Linked DNA regions of Homo sapiens: regions 1, 3 and 4 are each linked to region 2. Evidence: promoter capture Hi-C in human tissues and cell types (Jung and others, 2019). All regions are on one chromosome and are shown on one strand. The core of a region is centred on a gene start or on the middle of the fragment in contact, and the rest is flanking DNA. Distances in the headings are between cores, read along the strand shown. Region 1 overlaps MCU (mitochondrial calcium uniporter). Region 2 holds the start of P4HA1 (prolyl 4-hydroxylase subunit alpha 1). Region 3 has its middle 28 kb from the start of MCU. Region 4 overlaps PPP3CB (protein phosphatase 3 catalytic subunit beta).

Region 1 (3,830 bases), core at 353-2,852, 370 kb before region 2:
AGGCAGGAGAATGGCATGAACCCAGGAGGCGGAGCTTGCAGTGAGCCGAGATTGGGCCACTGCACTCCAGCCTGGGCGACAGAGCGAGATTCTGTCTTAAAAAAAAGAAAAAAAGAAAATGTTTATTATCTAGTCTTTTTTTTGCAGCTAAGTTTTTAAAAATTAGCAAATTTGTCAGAACGAAGATTAAATTAATAAACTTAGTTTTCTGTTCTATATATGATGCTATGATTCTTATTTTTTCTAACATATTCAGAATCATTCATTTTTAAAAAATTTCTTTCTATGATAAAAGTACTAAATCTTTTATCATAGAAATTGAGATGTACAGAAAAATGGAAGAAAGAAAAAGTGCTACTCAGAGACAACCATTGTTAACATTTTTATGTATTTCCTTTTAGACATTTTTTAATGGAATTCATCTTGCTTTGATAAAAGAATAGGTCATCTTTATATACAACATAAAACCATATAACTTACCATCGAAGATGACTCAAAGAAGAAAAAAACCCATGTAACTATATTTTGCTTTTTTTGCTCAGCATTATACCAAATATTTAACAAACTTGTCATACACATTTAATGGCAGCATAATATTCCAGAGTGGCTGTATCAGTATTTGTGCTTGCAACGTGCTTTTCAAAATATATATATTTTTTGGTAGCACATTTGAGGATTTTAAAGGTAAACATTCTTTCCTCGTTTTCACCTGATGACTTTTGTAGTTTGTTGCTCTGCAGATAGAATAGGTTACCGCCCTCACCATGTTCTTTTACACTCACAAGTAACAGCCACAAATTTTAATAATGTTATTCAGAACATCTTTAAAAGTCCATCTGTTTCAGATGGTATCTTCGAGAACGTTTAACACAAACTGTCAGATTCTTCTAAGGTCATTGGAAAGCCCATCCTTTTGTCTCTAGATTTGCTCATCAAGAATATTAAGAAATAGCTTGTGATTCTTTAATATAGTTATGTAGATATACTATATTTTTAAAAAATCAATTCCCTATTACACATGTATGTTGTTTCCAGTCTTTTGCAGTTATTTGCATTGCTATGGTGAATAACCTTGTGCATTCATCATTGCTTGTGTATGAGTTTATAGAATGTATTCCTTGAAGTAGAAGGTATCAGAATTACTCTCTGCTTACATCTTTGCCAATACAATGTGGTACTAAACTTTCTGACTGGTGAAAAAATGGTATCTCAATGAAGCTTTAATATGTTTTTCTCGTATAAGTGAAGTGAGATTCTTTTAAAAGTACTGTCTTTCCCTTTGCTGTGAACTAAAACTCATGTTCCTTAACTCTCATAGAGATGTTGGTCTTTTTCTTTGTAATTTGTGGGAGTTCTTTGTATATTAGGGAAACTAATCCTTTGTGATTTTAACTGCATTTCTACCACCACCCCCTCCCCCACAAGTTTGTCACTTTTTAACATTTTAAGTCCTTTAAGTCTGAATCTGGACATTCAACTCTTAGGCACATTTAAAGGGCTGTATTATATATGAAAGTAGGGAACTACCTGTAAATGTTGCCAAGTAAATACAGTATTAGTCCTGAACATATTTGAAGACAGCTATGTGGATGAAGGTTAGATTAGATTTATTCCTTCTCTTTATGGAGAAGCAAATTGCAGCTCAGCATATGGAAGAATTTTCTCTTATTAGATCAGCTTCAAAATGGAATGGAAATCCTTTGGAATAGATGGATTCTTCGTTACTAGATTTGTTATTGGGAAGGAGATGCCAGCCTTTTCCCCAGTTCATTGCACAAAATAAGCACTTAGTGTTGAATAAACGAATCTTTGGGGCATCTGGATGGTTGGATTAGCTGGTTTTTAATAACTTTCACACTGTGTTTATTTTTTATTTTTTTGAAACAAGGTCTCATGTTGTCATCCAGGCTATAGTGCAGTGGCACAAGCATGGCTTACTCTCCTGAGCCTCGACTTCCTGGGTTCAGGGGATCCTCCCACCTCAGCCTCTTCAAGTAGCTGGGTCTACATACACACGCCACCACACCTGGCTAATTTTTTTTTTTTGAGACGGAGTCTCGCTCTGTCACCCAGGCTGGAGTGCAGTGGTGTGATCTCGGCTCACTGTAAGCTCCACCTCCCGGGTTCCCGCCATTCTCCTGCCTCAGCCTCCCGAGAAGCTGGGACTGCAGGTGCCTGCTACCACACCTGGCTAATTTTTTGTATTTTTTAGTAGAGACGGGGTTTCACCGCGTTAGCCAGGATAGCCTCGATCTCCTGACCTTGTGATCCGCTTGCCTCAGCATCCCAAAGTGCTGAGATTACAGGCATGAGCCACTGCGCCTGGCCCACACCTGGCTAATTTAAAAATGTTTTTTATGGAGATGGAGTCCCACTATGTTGCCTAAGCTGGTCTCTAACTCCTGCCTTCAAATGATCCTCCCACCTGGGGCCTCCCAAAGTGTTGGGATTACAGGTATGAGCCATTGTGCCTGGCTCATACTATTTTCATTTAAAAAATATTAATGTAGGCCGGGTGCGGTGGCTCACGCCTATAATCCCAACACTTTGGGAGGCTGAGGTCGGTGGATCACCTAAGGTCAGTTCGAGACCAGCTGACCAACATGGTGAAACCCCATCTCTACTAAAATACAAAAATTAGCTGGGCATGGTGGTGGGCACCTGTAATCTCAGCTACTTGGGAGATTGAGGCAGAAGAATTGCTTGAACCCAGGAGGTGGAGGTTGCAATGAGCCAAGATTGCACCATTGCACTCCAGCCTAGGCAACAAGAGCGAAACTGTCTGAAAAAAAAGAAAAAAAATTAATCTATGTGTTTATACATACTGCCTTTCATATAACTAAAATCATATTTATTTCCTCCTTTCTTGCCTGATTCTCTCTCCTTCCCATTTTGCTCCAAGATAACCATGTCGTATATATATCCTTCCATATTTTTCTTCATACTTGAATGATTATCCTATCTGTTTTTATTTATTTATATATTTTAAGATAGGATCCTGCTGTATTGCCAGGCTGGTCTTGAACTCCTGGGCTCAAAGGATCCTCCCACCTCAGCCTCTGGAGTAGATAGAATCGTAGGCATTGGCCGTGGCACCTGGCTCCACCCTATTTGTTTTTTGTCTATCAGCACACACATACTTCAGGCACACACACACACGTGTGTGTGTGTGTGTGTGTGTGTGTGTGTAGTTCGTTCTGTAAAATTGGATCATATTTGCATTCTTTCCTGTATTTTGTTTTTCTCACATAGTAATAAATAGTAGAGCTCCCTCTAAGTCAACTGATACAGCTCTGTCATTAATTCAATGGCCGTATAATATGCCATCATATATGGGATTATTCCTTGATGCAGCTGTACTTTTGTTTATTCAGCTGATATTTTACTGGTGGACATTCACTTTGTTTCCTGTTTTTTTTTGTCACTGTGAACATTGTAATAAGCATCTTGTACATATCCTTATATACAGGTACGTTTATGAGATAAGTAGTGGGATTTCTGGTTCAAAGTATATGTACATATGATATATGCATATTTAATGATATAGGTTGAGTATTCCTAATCTAAAAAAAATCAAAATTCAGTATTTGAAACACTTCTGGTCCAAAGCATTTCCAATGAGGAATACTCAACCCATATTTAATAATTACTGCCAGATTGCTTTTCTTAGCCAACTTAAGAGTCTTTCCAAGGTCCCTTCTGGTTCATGTAAGGCCATAAAATATATAGTCTTCTTATAGTTGTTAGTTATAGGATTTTTCTGGATTCTTAAAAAGACTTTAAGAGTTCTATTTATAAAATTGATAATCTTCTGAATGACTGTGTTACCT
Region 2 (3,610 bases), core at 524-3,023:
TAAGGCACAATGTCCCAAAACCAAAACTGACTATGAATTTTATTAAAGGTAAGTGATAAAGTCTCTTTTCCCACATAAAGAAAAAAGTAAAATTTGAAGTTCACATTTCAGATTCTTAAATTACGCTCACAAGCTAAAAAAAAAAAAAAAAAAAAAAAAAAATCACGGGGTGTGTATTCACATTTCACATGAAGACAAAATATAGTTGAGGTTGTTCACTTTCAGCTTCTTGAATATATCGTCTTAGGATACCGATTTTCTCCATAGAAACTTGATTCTAAAAATCCCTTTAAAATGTTTTTTAAATTAACTTCCAACGTTCCTGCTATGCAGACTGAATTCTTCATCTGATTATTTTAGGAAAAGACTAGCCTCATTCATAAGCTACGTCTAAACCTAAAAGGGGAAATACGTTTCTAACCAGAACTTTAAAAAAAAAAAAAAAAAAGAGTAAAAAATTGATGAAAGAACGCTGCTGCCACGTCTTTGCCCCTCCCCCCTTCACGTAGTGGCTATTTCATCCCCTCCGAGTGCATTCCAAGCGAAAGTCCGAGAACCACTGCTCTCGGAGAAACCAGAAACAGTTAAGTGGAAATTGGCAAGTCTCTTTGGCCTTTTAGATCAATTCCTAAAAGAGGATCTAGCTGCTTCTTCAACCCTTTCTTAAAGAAAACAGTGCAAAATTCCAAGAGTCTTCACTCTATCCGGAACGCGTAAGATGTTAGTGTCTAAACATTGAATTTGTATGTAACAGAGTCGATTATTTAGGAGAAAGAGTCTCACAGTTATCATACCATCCTTCCTCCCCATTGAAACATACATCCGGGGGCCAGCCATGTAATCCAACTCAAAATCCTCACACAACCATGGAATTTGTTGGACTGATGTGGACTTTTAAAAGCTGCAAATTCTCGGCAGAGAGAGACAGAGAGACAGAGATTGAGAGAAGAGCTCTTGTCTCTTTTTAAAAAAAGTTATGGGGAAGAAGAGGGAAGGAAGCTTCCCTGACGACGAGGTGACCTGAGAGCCTACTTCCTCGGCGCTACGAGCAGAAAGCTCGGCGCCCCGGGCTACGTCTGGCAGCTAATGCTGCACCGCTGCGCGCAACAGATGAGTTCAGCCGGAACTTTCTGGGGAGGTCCCCCCAGCTCCCGGCGACTTTCGATAGGGCAAAAATGCCTGGCGCGCTGCGGATCCAGCTCCAAGCCTTAAAATCCGCTCTCCACCGCCACATGCGAACCATCTGCGGCTGTGGCGGCCAAAAGCCCACGCCCCGCGCTTGCGTTCCCCTTAGCCTCGTTAGGGAGGACCAGGTGCAGGGGAACTTGGAAAAAAAAAAAAGCAACAGAGTGATTCCTCCCCGGGAAGGAAAATTCAAGAAAGTCCTGGTCCCTAGGGCGGGGACTGAGGCTGCAGCAGCCCCAGCGGTCCGAGGCGCACTAGGGACAGAGGTGGGAAGGGGGGCACGAAGGAGCGCGGGCGCCGGGAGTCGCGTGGCGCAGGGAGAGGGGCCGAGTCTCCCGAGGGGAAGGAACCGAGGCTGCTGTGGTAACCTGGGGAACCCCCGCCCCAGAAGTACCACCACAGCGGGAAGGAATGGATCGCCGCAGCCGTCCGAGAAGGTCCACGGCTGCCCAGTGGCCTCAGTCTCCGGGATCGAGGGAGCGTCTCACCTGGAAAGTGGGACGAGAGGGCGGCGCGCTCTTCAGCCCCCAGTCGCCTCCACTCGGAGCGGCTACTTCCTACCCTCAGCCCGCTGGCGGCGCGACTGGGCAGCAGAGGGAGCCCGTTAGCCCTTTTATAACCTCTAGGCCGCGATGGCAGCGCCAGGGAGGAGGCGACTGCAGCCCTCGCTACGTGAGCTCGATCACACCAGCGCCCCGGCGACTGCGCAGGCGCCAAGCCCGTGCCTCCCTGCTGCCCCCACCCGTGGCCGGCCCGTGGAGTCTGAGGCCGAGAGGAGTGGCTGGGACCGGCCGCCGTGGTGTGGGTAAGCGGGAGTGGGATGTAACGCGCCTGCGCAGGGTTCTCGCCCCGCCACCGTTACCGTGGTTACCACGGGGTTTCCCCCGCTCCTGTTCAGTTTGCCTCCTTGATTTCAGGGTCCGCGTCAGGCCTAAGCGACGAGGCCGCCGGCAATAAAGTATCTTAAAAATGAGAAGAGGAACGTGGGAGTGTAGAAAATAAAGCAGAATTTTTCTAGGGTGGAAAATAATAGAGATTCAGTCTTGGTATCTCAGCTGTCTTGTTCCTCTCACATCTCAGCACTCATTTTATACTAATCGTGCTCTATCTCCTACCTTTATACCTTATCAGTAGATAATAGACTAAGAGCTCCAGGGTCAGGTTATCTCAATTCAAATCCTGCCTCAATCCTGTGTGTAACACTAGGCATTAACAACCTCTCCGTATCCGTTTACTCATCTGTAAAATAGAAATGACGGTACTACCCATCTTGTAAGATTCTTGTGAGAATAAAATGAGATAATGTATGTAAAGCACTTAACACATGCCTCACACACAGAAATGACTTAGTAAATATTAGATTCTCCAGTAACATTAATTTATATAAGGCACCCAATGTTGCGTTTGATCTTAGTCTAACATTTGCCTTAGTTATAAAGTAACCCCAAACCAAGGGTTTCTTTATATCTCCCTGTACTATGAGGGAGAATACAATGAAGAAGATAATTTTTTCCTTGTCAGTTAAAGAGAAAAATGAGTTGCTAAGACTTGTTATTCATTAAGAATTGTGGTTTCTAAAGTTTTCCATGTATGCTAAAAAGTATAGCAATAATTAACATTTGACTTACGCAGGAGGTGAGTGATTATATAGCTACAGAAAGAGAGAGAGGGTACTCTGGGAGCACTAGGCAACTAAAAAGTAGATATAATGATGTCTAAATCAATGGTTCTGAAAGCGTAGTCAGGGAATCCATAAGGTCAAAATTATTTTCATACTAAGACTTTATTTTCATACTAAGACTTACTGCCTTTTTCACTCTAATAACAATACAGTGAGGTCTTCCAGAGACTACATGCCTGTGATACAGATGGAACGCAGACACAGATATGAGAATCTTCTATTAGCCCAGACACTGAAGAGATTTGCAGAAATGTAAAATAATGCCACTCTTCTCACTAAATTATTTTGCTTTGGAAAATAGTTATTTTTCATTAAAAATATGTTATTAGGCCAAATGAAGTGGCTCACACCTGTAATCCCAGCACTTTGGGAGGCCGAGGCGGGAAGATCACCTGAGCCCAGGAGTTCGAAATCAGCCTGGGCAACATGGCCAGACCCTCTCTCAAAAAAAAAGTTATTTATGTTATGTTAACATGTAACAGGTTTATTATTGTTGTTTTAAATGAATAAATATTTTATATGTTTGTTTTAATTCCTAATATAGTAAATGTTGATAAATATGATCCACATAAAAGCTTTTTGGAGTCCTCAATACTTTTTAGGAGTATAAAGTAATTATAAGACCAAAGAGGCAGGGCGTGCGGTGGCTCACACCTGTAATCCCTGCACTTTGCGAGGCCAAGGCAGACGGATCACAAGGTCAGGAGATCAAGACCATCCTGGCCAACATGGTGAAACCCTGTC
Region 3 (3,668 bases), core at 662-3,161, 430 kb before region 2:
ACACTGCTCTTTTTAAAGGATATCAATGTCTAATCCCTACCCTTCAACCCCATCCCAGTAGTCTATTTATTTGTTTGTTTGTTTGTTTTGAGACAGAGTATCGCTCTGTTGCCCAGGATGGAGTGCAGTGGTGCGATCTTGGCTCACTGCAGCCTCCGCCTCCCGGGTTCAAGTGATTCCCCTGTCTCAGTCTCCAGAGTAGCTGAGATTACAGGCATACACCACCACATCCAGCTAATTTTTTGTATTTTTAGTAGAGTCGGGGGTTTCTCCATTTTGGCCAGGCTGGTCTTGAACTCCTGACCTCAGGTGATCCACCCACCTCCCCCTCCCAAAGTGTTGGGATTACAGGGGTGAGCCACTGCGCCTGGCCCCACCCCCATTCCAGTAGTTTTTAAAAGATGATTCTTATGTGTAGCTGAAGTTGAGATTCACTATGGTAGGGAATTACAATTGCTATGTTCTTAACAGGTTGTTTTTTTTTTTTTTTTTTGAGACGGAATTCTTGCTCTGTCGCCAGGCTGTAGTGCAGTGGTACGATCTCAGCTCACTGCAACCTCCACCTCCCTGGTTCAAGCTATTCCCCACCCTCAGCCTCCCAAGTAGCTGGGATTACAGGCACATGCCACCACGCCTGGCTAATTATTTGTACTTTAGTAGAGACAGGGTTTCACCATGTTGGCCAAGATGGTCTGATCCACCTGCCTCGGCCTCCCAAAGTGCTGGGATTACAGGCATGTGCCACTGTACCTGGCCGTTCTTAACAGTTTTTTTAAAAAAGCATAAAAATACGTTAGCTAAAACTTGCTTTAGATTCTCCTTCCAAAGCTTTTTGAATTCAGTGTTAGGTGTTTGCTATGTCAAGAATAAACACTAACAAGAAACAAAATGAGTATCTTGTTCTGATCCATGTACCTTAACCTACTGGCTTGTAAAAAGAAATTTGTTCTTTGCTGAGTCAACTGTAAAAAGAATTTTTGCCTGAAATTAAATATGCAGGCCAGGCGCGTGGCTCACGCCTGTAATCCCAGCACTTTGGGAGGCTGAGGTGGGCAGATCACGAGGTCAGGAGATCGAGACCATCCTGGCTAACATGGTGAAATCCCGTCCCTACTAAAAATACAAAAAATTAGCCGGGCATGGTGGCGGGCGCCTGTAGTCCCAGCTACTCGGGAGGCTGAGGCAGGAGAATGGCGTGAACCCGGGAGGCGGAGCTGGCAGTGGGCCGAGATAGCGCCACTGCAGTCCAGCCTGGGCGAAAGAGTGAGACTCCGTCTCAAAAAAAAAAAAAAAAAAAAGAAATTAAATATGCAACCCAAGATTGGTTTGCCTAGTGTCACTGTAAGGGCAGGTTAAGTAACAAAGTTTAAAGCTCAAGGATGCTGCTGAACACCTTGGAGTGTGTCTAGATAATGCAATTTTCCATTAATATCAAGGCATAAAAGCCAGTACTCCTCTCACTTGCCTGTAAATCTCATGACTTAGCTTAGTTTCTTTCAAGAATAGGATCTTATTATGGTGTTCACAGACAAGTGAAAAAATAATTACATAAAAGCCAAAGTGCATTTTCTTTCATCTCAACCACTGCAATAAAATTTCCAGCAAGAGGACAATTCCAGACTCATTTTTCAGAGTTGTTGCTGATGTCTGAACATGTATGATCCATGAGAGTAGGGATATTTTGCTTGTTTGCTTTTTGTTTACTTCCCATCCCAGTAGTGTATAGGCTACTGGGCACATAATAGATAATCGATGAATATTTATTGAATGAATAAGTATTGGGTTTTGATATTGAATAGTGCCTTCCACTTCCCAAACACTGAAAAACCCAGTGTGAAATTCCTTTTAAAATTTATTATTAATATGAGTCTAGAATAAATATTGTAATATATATCTATTATTTCAGTCTTTTCAGCAACCCTTCCTCTTTCCTTCAAGATGACAAAACTAGTCTGTCCTACTGGGAATGAACTCAGTGTGGACTCACTCCCTCTCCTCCCTGGCTATAGGAGATATCTTGTGACCAAGACTTATCCCATCAGAAAATTACATTCCTTAGCTACCCCCACTCACTTCCCACCACATTGTTGGTTCCTGATGCAAGTCAAGCTGCCCTGTGACTTTTCTGCTACAGCTAATAAAGAAGATCATCTCTATCTGCTGGAGTTAATTGTGGGTATACTTTGGAGTCTGGAGCTGGGGGCAGCCATCTTTCCCACCTTAGGGTTAGAACCTGTATGTAGTAGCAAGCCAATCAGAAGCAAGAAGAATTGAAAGGTAGAGAGGGAAGGAGGGAGAGAAAGAGAGAGAGAGACTGTTTTCTCATCACCAAACAACTCATATTTATTCCTTTTTAAAAGTAGGAATATATTTTTTGTTTTGTCTATGAAAATAAAAAATGCTAATTGTTAAAATATCAAAATTTTTTAAAATGAAGAAAATTAAAGTTATTTTGAGTTCAACACCAAGACACTATCTTTCTTTTCTTATTTTATTTTATATTTTTATTTTATTATTATTTTTTGAGACGGAGTCTCGCTCTATCACCCAGGCTGGAGTGCAGTGGCACGATCTCGGCTCACCGCAACCTCCACCTCCCTTGTTCAAGCCATTCTCCTCCCTCAGCCACCCGAACAGCTGGGATTACAGGCACACGCCACCATACCTGGCTCATTTTTGTGTTTTGAGTAGAGATGGGGTTTCACCATGTTAGCCAGGCTATTCTTGAGCTCCTGACCTTGTGATCCACCTGCCTCGGCCTCCCAAAGTGCTGGGATTATAGACGTAAGCCACTGCACCTGGCCTTTTTTTTTCTTATGTTCAACAAAACATGTTTTTATAACCTCCTTTTATCAGTTTATGTATCATAAATATCTTTTCACATTAATGAAGATAGATTTATGTCTTTTTTTTTTTTTTTTTTTTTTTTTTGAGACGGAGTCTTGTTCTGTCGCCCAGGCTAGAGTGCAGTGGTGCAATCTGAGCTTACTGCAACCTCCGCCTCCTGGGTTCAAGTGATTCCCTGGCCTCAGCCTCCCAAGTAGCTGAGATTACATGTGAGTGCCACCACGCCCAGCTAATTTTTGTATTTTTTGTAGGGAGACGGGGTTTCACCATATTGGCCAGGCTGGTCTCAAACTCCTGACCTCAGGTGATCCACCCGCCTTGGCCTCCCAAAGTGCTGGGATTACAGGTATGAGCCACCACACCCACCCTATGTCATTATTTTAAAAAACGATATAGTATTCTAGAAAAAATATAAAACAAAAACTATATAGTATTCCATTGGGTATATTCACTATAGATTACTTAACCATCCCTGTTGTTGCAGATAGCTCTTAAAAGCTCTTAAATGTTTTCTGAAAAACAATAAATCTTTCTCCTGAGAATCCCCTCATTCTAAATTTTCCTTGCATAATTTGAACATTTGAAGGTTACTGGTTGGGTAGGAGAGGAGGAGGAAGACTTTTGTGAGCTGGTGAAAACATAGAAAATAGTACTTTTGTAACTATGAGGACTTTCTTACTAAATATTAAGTGTATTAATCTCATATAGATGAAGAGTAGACATCGTGATTGGTAAATTTCTTGGCTATTTTTTCAGATTTTTTTTTTTTGAGACAGAGTGTCACTGTGTCACGCAGGCTACAGTACAGTGGCACAATCTCG
Region 4 (3,912 bases), core at 387-2,886, 400 kb after region 2:
TAAAAAACATTTTTTATGGTGAAATGAGGTCATATGATTGGCACGCTTTGTTTAATAAATCAAGGTCCTTTTACCAAACTTTTCCTTACAACTCTTGCCAATTCATTCAATAGCTCTGGAACCTGAAGCTTTTGCCTCACTACTAAGCTGTATTTCCAACTTGGCATTTTCCTTTTAAGGTAACTTGTTACCATAGTGTTCCCTCTCCCTCTCCCTCTCACCCCATCCCCTCACACTCTTTTTCTCTCTCTCTTTCTGTTCCTTTGCTTTCACTAGGACACATGGTACTGAAGATTTATTTTATTTATTTATTTTTATTTATTTGAGACGGAATATCGCTCTGTCACCCAGGCAGGGTGCAGTGGCACAATCTCGGCTCACTGCAGCCTCCACTTCTCAGGTTCAAGTGATTCTCCTGCCTCAGCCTCCCAAGTAGTTAGGATTACAGGTGCGTGCCACCACACCCTGCTAATTTTTGTTTGTTTGTTTTTATTGTTTTTTTTTTTTTTTTTTTTTTTTTTTTTTGACAGTCTTGCTCTGTCGCCCAGGCTGGAGTGCAGTGGCATGAACTCGGCTCACTGCAATCTCCGCCTCGCAGGTTCAAGCGATTCTCCTGCCTCAGCCTCCCGAGTAGCTGGGATTACAGGCGTGTACCACCACACCAGGCTAATTTTTGTATTTTTAGTAGAGACGGGGTTTCACCATGTTGGTCAGGCTGGTCTCGAACTCCTGATCTCGTGATCCACCTGCCTCAGCCTCCCAAAGTGCTGGGATTACAGGCGTGAGCCACTGTGCCCAGCCAAATTTTTGTATTTTTAGTAGAGATGGGGTTTCACCATGTTGGCCAGGCTAGTCTCAAACTCCTGACCTCAAGTGATCCCCCCGCCTCGGCCTCCCAAAGTGCTGGGATTACAGGCATGAACCACTGCTGCGCCTGGCCTGAAGATTTATTTTAGTATGGTTAACAGTAATGAGAGTGGAAAGTAAAAGAAAAATAATTTCTAGTTCTTTTTACACAGATAAGTCCACAAAATAGACTTTGTAAACAAAAATTAAAATTCAAGCTGCTTTAAAATATAATGAAATAGAACTAGCAAGAAACACTGAAGTAGCTATGTCACACCAAGGCTATATGGGTTATCTGAAAATAAGTAATCTGGCTAGGCACGGTGGCTCATGCCTATAATCCCAGCATTTTGGGAGGCCAGGGTGGGTGGATCACCTGAGGTCAGGAGATCGAGACCAGCCTGACCAACATGGAGAAATGTCGTCTCTACTAAAAATACAAAATTAGCCGGGCGTGGTGGCACATGCCTGTAATCCCAGCTACTTGGGAGGTTGAGGCAGGAGAATCGTTTGAACCCGGGAGGTGGAGGTTGCAGTGAGCCGAGATTGCGCCATTGCACTCCAGTCTAGGCAAGAAGAGCGAAACTCCATCTCAAAAATAAATAAATAAATAAATAAATAAATAAACAAAAAGTAATCCTCCTAAAGGAAAGCTACTAGAAAACACTTTAGCCAAATGACTTCAGATTTATAAGCAGGGCAACTGGCAACAGAATCCAAATGAATTCTAACGTTGTCAATCAGAAATACTTTAGCTTAAAAAAAATTAAAACACATAAATTCAGCATTTTGGTTCAATCTGAAAGTCTGATAATTTGAGGTTACTATAACCCATGAAATAAAATAATGTTAAGAAAATGACTCACATTGTAGGTGCTAAAATGAACATATGCCCAATACTGACAATGCTCTCTAAGTAAAAAGGTGAATTTTTTATTAATACTAACAGTCTTGATAATCTCAAGAGACAATCCAGCTTTACAAATCTAGAACCTGGTATACAAAGCAAAACGTACATTTTTTAAGTATCTGGGGAAAAAAGGAGGTATCTGGGCAATTCAGGTCAAGTAAACTTTGTGGGGAGGAGGGAAAGCAATATATATAAATTCAGGATTTTGTGCTTCAATTACCTATACCAGCTTTGCTGATGTGGTAAGAAAGCACACATGCAGATACGGTTAGATATTTTTCCTAATTTTTTTCCACTTTCTTATTTCCTACATAGCTAAAGAATGCTTAATAGAATATAATTAAAAGGGTATATACCATCTTGCTTAATCAGGTGGGTTAGATCAACTTTCAAACAGGGGAAGAATTTGACTTGAGCCAGCAGCTGGAGTAGGCTCAGAACTGAATTTAATCAACCAAAAACCTAATGACCCATAATCAATGACATGGAATTACCACTAATAATTTTAGTGACAAGCTCATCACATTTACTCATGAATCACCTACAGTATTCCAAGCTCCCAAACTTCACAAAAAGTGAATTTCAGGTATCTGATCTTAAACACAGAAAGACCTATACACCCTTAAAAACCTACATGACCATAAAATGTAGGCCTTATGACTACAAGCATGGAGTATAAAATTTTGACACTAAGAAGTTCCAGGGAGGCAGGCCGGGCGCGGTGGCTCACGCCTGTAATCCCAACACTTTGGGAGGCCACGGTGGGAGGATCATGAGGTCAGGAGTTTGAGACCAGCCTGGCCAACATGGTGAAACCCCGTCTCTGCTAAAAAATACAAAAAATTAACCGGGCATGGTGGCGCGCACCTATAATCCCAGCTACTCGGGAGGCTGAGGCAGGAGAATCGCTTGAACCCAGGAGGCAGAGGTTGCAGTGAGTAGAGATCGCGCCACTGCACTCCACTTGGGCAACAAGAGTGAAACTCCGTCTCAAAAAAAAAAAAAAAATTCCAGGGAGAAAAAGACTACTTGCATTCAATGCCAACAGACAGTCTCCATAATATCACTACTATGAAAATGTATCGATACAAAACTACCACCACATTGTGGACTTAAAAGAAATTTGGATTTTAACAAGTTAAACTTAAGCTGAACTCACATCATTTATCATCAGGCAACCAGTATTCTCTAATATCAGGTATCACATTATAGTATAATTACTGAATAAAAGACAAGGAAGAATCCTGAAGATGAAATTTAAAAGTGAATTTCTGGATCTGTAAGAAAGGTGAATTTCCCAGTAAATGCAGGAGACTCCATGAGCAGTGCAAATTAGTCTGTTACACACCATTTTAAAACATATAATCCATACAGGAATTCCAACTGGTTAACAAATTCCATAAAGAAATGAAAGTTGTCTCTATGAAGAGGGCACAATGAAGCACCAGAAATATGATAACCATAAGCTTTATTTAACTATAATTTTCTATATTAACAAGCTCCTTTCCTATTTATCTAAATCAAATGGCTTTTATTCCACACCAATAACCTGCAAATATGACTGCCTTGGACTCACAACTCACCCCTAAGGAATCTGCCTTATGTTTGGAATCTTATTTTCACTGCATTAAAGCAGTACAGAAAAAACATTACCATATATATGACAAGGAATAAGAAGATTCACAAACGTAAGGATAGCATAAACTCATTGTTCAGGAATGTGATTGGTTACCCCATCTAACAGTCTGGTGAAAAGTGCCCAGGGAAATGAACACACAACACAGAAATACAGTCAGAAAATGAAGAGGTAGCCAATGTCCCGTTCCCACCCCCACAAAACTCCAGGATTTCTTGATAGAATGAATGTCTGCATTACTATTTTTTTTTTAAGATTTCTCTGTATTAAGGATTCCATAAACTCGTTATTCAGCTCATTCCAATGCCTGGCCCAACTGGATATACTACTAACTTAAGCCTAGGTGCAAATCAGTGTTTTGTTTTTGTTTTTGTTTTTGTTTTTGGAGACAGGGTCTGGCTCTGTCGTCCAGGTTGGAGCACACTGGCGCAAATCTCGGCTCACTGCAACTTCTGCCTCTCGGGCTCCAGTGATTCTCGTGCCTCAGCCTCCCGATCCGCTGGGACTACAGGGGCGCGCC

Evidence for each region. Contacts are between HindIII fragments. The study calls those that stand out against the background at their distance.
Region 1: a fragment that was not itself captured here is called in contact with the fragment with the promoter of P4HA1 in region 2 in 2 of the 25 tissues and cell types used here (mesendoderm cells and thymus).
Region 3: a contact is called between a fragment that was not itself captured here and the fragment with the promoter of P4HA1 in region 2, in 1 of the 25 tissues and cell types used here (dorsolateral prefrontal cortex).
Region 4: a contact is called between a fragment that was not itself captured here and the fragment with the promoter of P4HA1 in region 2, in 1 of the 25 tissues and cell types used here (psoas muscle).

What each region holds. Positions count from the first base shown.
Region 1 is chr10:72,723,098-72,726,927 of GRCh38, forward strand. The region is part of intron 1 of MCU (mitochondrial calcium uniporter); the gene reads left to right. Among named protein-coding and RNA genes, the nearest start is that of MIR4676, 4.0 kb to the left of the region's middle. The HindIII fragment of the contact is 5,564 bases long and covers 1-3,830 here.
Region 2 is chr10:73,095,093-73,098,702 of GRCh38, forward strand. P4HA1 (prolyl 4-hydroxylase subunit alpha 1) reads right to left here and starts at 1,774. Exons shown (of 15, transcript NM_001017962.3): 1 at 1,674-1,774. RefSeq lists enhancers at 1,155-1,910, 2,155-2,224 and a silencer at 1,795-2,124. The HindIII fragment of the contact is 7,006 bases long and covers 268-3,610 here.
Region 3 is chr10:72,662,127-72,665,794 of GRCh38, forward strand. No RefSeq gene overlaps it. Among named protein-coding and RNA genes, the nearest start is that of MCU, 28 kb to the right of the region's middle. The HindIII fragment of the contact is 7,462 bases long and covers 1-3,668 here.
Region 4 is chr10:73,490,528-73,494,439 of GRCh38, forward strand. The region is part of intron 1 of PPP3CB (protein phosphatase 3 catalytic subunit beta); the gene reads right to left. Among named protein-coding and RNA genes, the nearest start is that of PPP3CB-AS1, 3.3 kb to the right of the region's middle. The HindIII fragment of the contact is 4,358 bases long and covers 1-3,815 here.